2 separate regions of the Homo sapiens genome follow, and region 1 is linked to region 2. Evidence: promoter capture Hi-C in human tissues and cell types (Jung and others, 2019). All regions are on one chromosome and are shown on one strand. Each heading gives the region's core, a stretch centred on a gene start or on the middle of the fragment in contact. The rest is flanking DNA. Distances are from core to core; before and after follow the strand shown. Region 1 holds the start of OR51T1 (olfactory receptor family 51 subfamily T member 1). Region 2 has its middle 6.5 kb from the start of OR51V1.

Region 1 (3,659 bases), core at 443-2,942, 310 kb before region 2:
GCTTTTGGAAGCTGGTTTAGTCCCTGCTCTGTTATGGGACTGAAGAGAAGTTGGTGGTGTTTCCTGCTGATGTGACCAGGTAAGACGGGAGTGCAAACGTGGAGAAAAAAACTGAAGTGGGGCAGGGGGAGTTTTTTAAAAATGAGGGATGGTAAGATAAGGAGAGGAAGAAGATAAAGCAATAAATTGATGGGAACTACAAGTAAGATGGGATGAAGAAAGGGAGGGGTGTAACAGATACTGGAAGAAATTGAGATGGGAGAGAGAAGACAGGAGGAGAAAGAAGAGAAAAAGGCAAAAGACGATAGGACTCAAAACTCCCTTTCTGTGGCCATAATTGTTTGGTAATCAATCAATGTTGCTAAATGAAGATTTCTGTTTTTCCTGATCCTGCTTTAGTAACTAGCATTGAGAGATTAAAAACGTGCATTCCCAAACTTTCAAGAATCTCAAACTTCTGGCAGAAGAACACAGTACTTGGATATATAAATTACCAATATCAGTTGTGCCTCATTATTAAGCACCAAGGGAAAGGTCCAAGCAAAATGTGGGGCAAAGATTGAAGCAGAGGGTAGTTTTAGCTTAATATGTCAGGGAACTTTCAGGGTATATTCTGAATTGTGGAGGAAATATAATTCAGTGTTAACAAATTAACAGAAGGTAGGGGTTGGTAAATGAAGAGGATGGGTCTGTAACATTACTGATGCCAGAAAATAGGGATGTTGACCTTTGGGTCACTCTGTTATTGAGTTGAGTGAGTGTTATTCAAATAATTTCACCTGGTCTTCTGTATATGAATGGGCAGATGCTACCTTCTTCCTGGCCAGTCAGATGGAGACTTGTACCTGAAGAGAGAAAGCACTAATATATTGCTCTGGTTAGCCAGCAATGTTGAGAAAACCTTGATAAATTTAGGCACTGAACTTTGACCTACCACTGGCTCCAGAGTGTATGACCTCACAGAGAGAAAGCCCTCTGCTTCTTCTTCTGTCTCCATTCCACAGGAAAGATTTCCCCAGCAGCAAACGGAACCACTGTCTCCTCTCCTCTTACCGCCTTGCATTATCCAGTGTCATTTCTTTGCCTTTATGAGATATCATTCCAAGAACAGAGGATAACTGATATCTGCTTTATAAGCATCTCATCGCTCAGTTACTTTTGCACCCCCAAATGCCCTCTGCATTCATCTGCACGTGAAGACAAAAACAATACAAACATATGTAGACTTTTATACATAATTTTAAAAACACTTGGACTCCACAAACATTCTTCTTTAGATGAGTCATGAGAACATAGTTCTCTATTTTGCTTATTTCTCATCTCTACCCCTCCTGTACATCATATACAAGTATAAAAGGATATTAAAAAATTGTATTTTAAAGGAAGGAAATTACAACATTCAGCTATCCAAATTGTCTCATTAGCCTGGCCTCTCTGATCATCTGAAGTTTAGTAAAAAATAATAGACTTTGGAGTTAGTAAATTTGGTTTTGAATTTGAATCTGTATTGAACTATTTTAGCCTAGATATACTATTTAACCTTCCTGGGTCCATTTCCTTTCTTTAAAACAGAAGAAAAATAACTACCTTAAATTTAAAATTGTATATAAAATGACTAATAAAATGTATGCTATATATATAAAGAATCTTAATTATTTTTCTTTCCTCATAGTTCAGTGTCTTCAACCAACCATGGCAATATTCAATAACACCACTTCGTCTTCCTCAAACTTCCTCCTCACTGCATTCCCTGGGCTGGAATGTGCTCATGTCTGGATCTCCATTCCAGTCTGCTGTCTCTACACCATTGCCCTCTTGGGAAACAGTATGATCTTTCTTGTCATCATTACTAAGCGGAGACTCCACAAACCCATGTATTATTTCCTCTCCATGCTGGCAGCTGTTGATCTATGTCTGACCATTACGACCCTTCCCACTGTGCTTGGTGTTCTCTGGTTTCATGCCCGGGAGATCAGCTTTAAAGCTTGCTTCATTCAAATGTTCTTTGTGCATGCTTTCTCCTTGCTGGAGTCCTCGGTGCTGGTAGCCATGGCCTTTGACCGCTTCGTGGCTATCTGTAACCCACTGAACTATGCTACTATCCTCACAGACAGGATGGTCCTGGTGATAGGGCTGGTCATCTGCATTAGACCAGCAGTTTTCTTACTTCCCCTTCTTGTAGCCATAAACACTGTGTCTTTTCATGGGGGTCACGAGCTTTCCCATCCATTTTGCTACCACCCAGAAGTGATCAAATACACATATTCCAAACCTTGGATCAGCAGTTTTTGGGGACTGTTTCTTCAGCTCTACCTGAATGGCACTGACGTATTGTTTATTCTTTTCTCCTATGTCCTGATCCTCCGTACTGTTCTGGGCATTGTGGCCCGAAAGAAGCAACAAAAAGCTCTCAGCACTTGTGTCTGTCACATCTGTGCAGTCACTATTTTCTATGTGCCACTGATCAGCCTCTCTTTGGCACACCGCCTCTTCCACTCCACCCCAAGGGTGCTCTGTAGCACTTTGGCCAATATTTATCTGCTCTTACCACCTGTGCTGAACCCTATCATTTACAGCTTGAAGACCAAGACAATCCGCCAGGCTATGTTCCAGCTGCTCCAATCCAAGGGTTCATGGGGTTTTAATGTGAGGGGTCTTAGGGGAAGATGGGATTGAAGGTAGGAAATTGTCAGGACACGAATTATGCTTTGGAAAGAAAGGGACTTGGGGCAGTCTTATCCACAGGTGTTTTGGTTGCTGAGTCAATTCCAATTGAATTTTAGGAGTGGGAAGAAGACAGTAATTTTCCCCTGAGCTTATCAAAGAGTTTTATTTTTAATTTTTAATACCATAATTTAAACCAAATTAATTGAGCATATGTCCCTGAACCATTTTAAACAATGACATGACTCCTGTGCATATAAAAGCAGACTAGTCACTTTAATATAGTGGAAAACTTTATCTCCTTTAAGACAGTAATTTTTAGACCAGAAGTAAATTAAAATTTTATTTTCACATCCAGCTGAACAATTTTTTTTTTTCCCTGAGGTGATATTTCCAGTGAGGCAATGAAGGTTGTTACTTGAGCTGGTAAAAGGAAAAGTTACATATGTGCACAAAGGCACACACGTAGAAAGTTATAATTAAAAACTTTAGGAAAATCTTGTACATTGGTTTCAGTTCCTGGTGTCACTTCTAGAGAGTGCTGTATCCTTACAAATATACTCCCTATACCTCTATCTTTCTTTAATCCCTTTTCTTCTTATAGAAGTGATATTTTTTCAGTTTTAGTTAGTACTTTATATACCTCCAATCCATCCAATATATAAAATTACACATTGACTTTCATTGTTTTCTCATTGCCTATATATTCTAATATAGTTCTAATCCTGATTCCATAGCTACTCCATTGCTAACTCTCAGAACTGCAGCTTTTTTCTATTTGCTCTTGTTTCTTGGGTTGTTAATTTTCTACCTAGCTATTGACTGCTTCTACCTTCTGGTATACTCATCACTCTAGAATTGCACAGTAGCTTTGATGCTTTTGAATAGGAAATTTCTAGATTGCCTTTATTAACAATATTTGTTTTGTGAAGAAGTAAACTCAGGCACAGGGTTGTTAGGGTGCTGGAGATAATTCTTCACATTTTTTTCCACAG
Region 2 (3,491 bases), core at 417-2,916:
ATGTAGAGAATGATGACTATAATTAAAGAAAATGAATTAAGCAATATACAATTAAAGCTCTTTATGTCTTTTCACAGCTTGATAGACCTTTATTTATATCACTGAATAATATTCTATCCTATGGATGTTCCACAGTTTATCCATTCATCTTGGTTACTTTCAACTTTTGGCAATTATGAGTAAAGTTCCTATAAACCTTGGTTAGTTCATGTCTGTGTGTGGACATAAATTTTTGACTCATTTGGGTAAATACATAGGAGTGTGATTGTTGGGTCACATGAAAAGACTAGTTTTGTAAGAAACTGTAAACTGTCTTCCAATTTGGCTGCACTATTTCTCATCCCTACAAGCAATAAGTGAGAGTTACTGTTGCTCCACTTCGTTGCCAGTGTTTGGTGGATGTCAGTATTTTGGAATTTGGCCTTCTAATATGTGTGTAGTGGTTGGTATCTTCTTGTTTTAATGTGCAGTTTCTTAATGACATGTGTTACTGAGTATATTTTCATGTGCTTATTGCAATCTATATATCTTCTTTGGTAAAGTGTCTGTTCAGATCTTTTGCCCACTTTGCAATTGGATTGTTTGTTTTTTATTGTAGAATTTTAAAAGTTCTTTGTATAATATGTATACAAGTCCTTTATCAGATAATATGTTTTGCAAATATGTTCTCTGTGGCTTGTTTTTTTCATTCTCTTAACTTACCATGAATTTTTATTTTATTTTATTTTGTTCTGGGTATTTTGTGGATACTCTCAATTTCAACTGCTGTGTTCTTTTGTTCAGAAAATTGTCTTGTATTGATCTCTAGTAAGTTCCTTCTACATGTTCTATTTTCACTCTCTCCTGAACTCCAGTTAAGATTTTGGAGTTCCTGACTTCACCCTATTTTTTCCTCCATGCCCCCCATATTTATTCCTTTGTCCTTTTTTTCTGCACTCTTAAATCTACTTCCTGTCCCCCTTATTGGCTACTTCATCTCATCTCTCATATTTTTGCTTTATTTACTATTTATCATGCCCTCTATTTTTTATACTATTCTGTTCAAATATCAAGGATCTAAAATGAGTGGTTATTTAATTAAGAATATTTATTATGCACCTCTTTTATTATTAGCTTTTATTTTCTGCCCTGAATAAGCTGTGCTCCAAATAAGTTTTCTTTATTAAAATTGATTCTAGGTATGTAATTTTTGTGTTGGTGGACTTAATTGCATTCCTGATAATCTTTGTCCATCCTTCTGTGTCCGGAATTGGTGGGTTCTTGGTCTCGCTGACTTAAAGAATGAAGCCGCGAACCCTCGTGGTGAGTGTTACAATTCTTAAAGATGGTGTGTTCAAAGGATGGTGTGTCCAAAGTTTGTTACTTCAGATGTGTCCAGAGTTTCTTCCTTCTGGTGTGTTCACGGTCTTGCTGGCTCCAGGAGTGAAGCTGCAGACCCCCACGGGGAGTGTTACAGCTCTTAAAGGCGGAGCGTATGGAGTTGCTCATTCCTCCTGTCTTGGGTTGTTCATCCCCCATGCTGGGTTCGTGGTCTTGCTGGCTTCAGAAGTGAAGCCGCAGACCTTCGCAGTGAGTGTTACAGCTCATAAAGGCAGCGCGGATCCAAAGAGTGAGCAGCAGTAAGATTTATTGTGAAGAATAAAAGAACAAAGCTTCCACAGCATGGTAGGGAACCCAAGTCAGTTGTCACAGCTGGCTCCGGCAGCCTGCCTTTATTTCCTTATCTGACCCCACCCACATCCTGCTGATTGGTCCATTTTACAGAGAGCTGATTGGCCCATTTTACAGAGAGCTGGTTGGTCCGTTTTGGCAGAGTGCTGATTGGTGCATTTACAAACCTTGAGCTAGACACAGAGTGCTGATTAGTGCATTTACAATCCTTTAGCTAGACACAAAAGTTCTCCAAGTCCCCACTAGATTAGCTAGACACAGAGCACTGATTGGTGCATTTACAAACCTTGAGTTAGACACAGATTGCTGATTGGTGCATTTACAAACCTTTAGCTAGACATGAAAGTTCTCCAGTTCCATATTTCATGGTGAGGAACAAAGAATATAGTGGGGATCCCCACCATATTCTTTGTTCCTCACCATGAAATATGGAACTGGAGAACTTTCATGTCTAGCTAAAGGTTTGTAAATGCAATTTATTGCGGCACTATTCACAATAGCAAAGACTTGGAACCAACCCAAATGTCCAACAATGATAGACTGGATTAAGAAAATGTGGCACATACACACCATGGAATACTATGCAGCCATAAAAAAGGATGAGTTCATGTCCTTTGTAGGGACATGGATGAAATTGGAAATCATCATTCTCAGTAAACTATCGCAAGGACGAAAAACCAAACACTGCATGTTCTCACTCATAGGTGGGAATTGAACAATGAGAACACATGGACACAGGAAGGGGAACATCACACTCTGGGGACTGTTGTGGGGTGGGGGGAGGGAGGAGGGATAGCATTAGGAGATATACCTAATGCTAAATGATGAGTTAATGGGTGAAGCACACCAGCATGGCACATGTATACATATGTAACTAACCTGCACATTGTGCACATGTACCCTAAAACTTAAAGTATAATAATAATAAAATAAAATAATTTTAAAAAGAGTATAGTGGGGATTTCTATGAACACGGTACAATTAGTTATCTGGCCAGTTACTTTGAAGGCTGATCAGAAAGAAGCCTAGCTAATCCAGTAAGCGAATACTCAAATGCCAATATCTATTAGTCCTTTCTCTTGAGACAGTTTATCATCATTCAATATGTATTCTTTTGCATAATCTCTCTGTTTCATATATTACACCTTAGTCCTGGCATCCTTTGCACTGAATTTCCCAGTGTCTGGATCATCATTGATTTGGTTACTACAGACACTAATCATTTTGCCAGAACTAAAGAGAAATGAGTACCTGGCTATCTTTTAGGCAACCTTAAACAGGTATTCACCTTTTCTACCATTTTTAGCCCTACCCCTCACGAATGCTTTATAAGTAATTTCTGTGTTTTTCCAGAAAATGCTCTTTGCAGATAACGTTTTTTCTCATTGGTATCCTTTTCTGTAGACATATAGATTTCAGATTATCCTGTTCTGTTTTTTAAAAAATCATATTTAAATGTATATACTTATCAATTTGTTCATACATATTGTGCTATTTTCTTCACAGTGTCTCTGTGTACATCTATAGCTTTAGTGGATTAGAGAAAGTAGCAGAAATGAACACATATTCAGTCTGCCAGGTTTATATGTAAATTGACACTTTCACTCATATTTCTTAAATTTATATTTTATTATTCAGTACAGAAAAATACATAAATAAAAGTACAGTTTGTTAAATTGACACAAAATTAGCAAAAGCTTTTAACAAACACTCAGACCAAGAAAGAGAACATTACCAGCATCTCAAAAGCTAAACACCGATTGATTCCTCAGTTCTGGCTGCAACCTGAAAGCCTGCATTTTCTATGTGCCATTACATGG

Evidence for each region. Contacts are between HindIII fragments. The study calls those that stand out against the background at their distance.
Region 1: the fragment with the promoter of OR51T1 here is called in contact with a fragment that was not itself captured in region 2 in 1 of the 25 tissues and cell types used here (aorta).

What each region holds. Positions count from the first base shown.
Region 1 is chr11:4,880,208-4,883,866 of GRCh38, forward strand. It overlaps OR51T1 (olfactory receptor family 51 subfamily T member 1), which reads left to right and starts at 1,693. Exons shown (of 1, transcript NM_001004759.3): 1 at 1,693-2,676. The coding sequence starts at 1,693. The coding sequence ends at 2,676. The region is part of intron 2 of MMP26 (matrix metallopeptidase 26); the gene reads left to right. The HindIII fragment of the contact is 5,093 bases long and covers 1-3,659 here.
Region 2 is chr11:5,192,396-5,195,886 of GRCh38, forward strand. No RefSeq gene overlaps it. Among named protein-coding and RNA genes, the nearest start is that of OR51V1, 6.5 kb to the right of the region's middle. RefSeq lists an enhancer at 1,315-2,051. The HindIII fragment of the contact is 5,551 bases long and covers 1-3,491 here.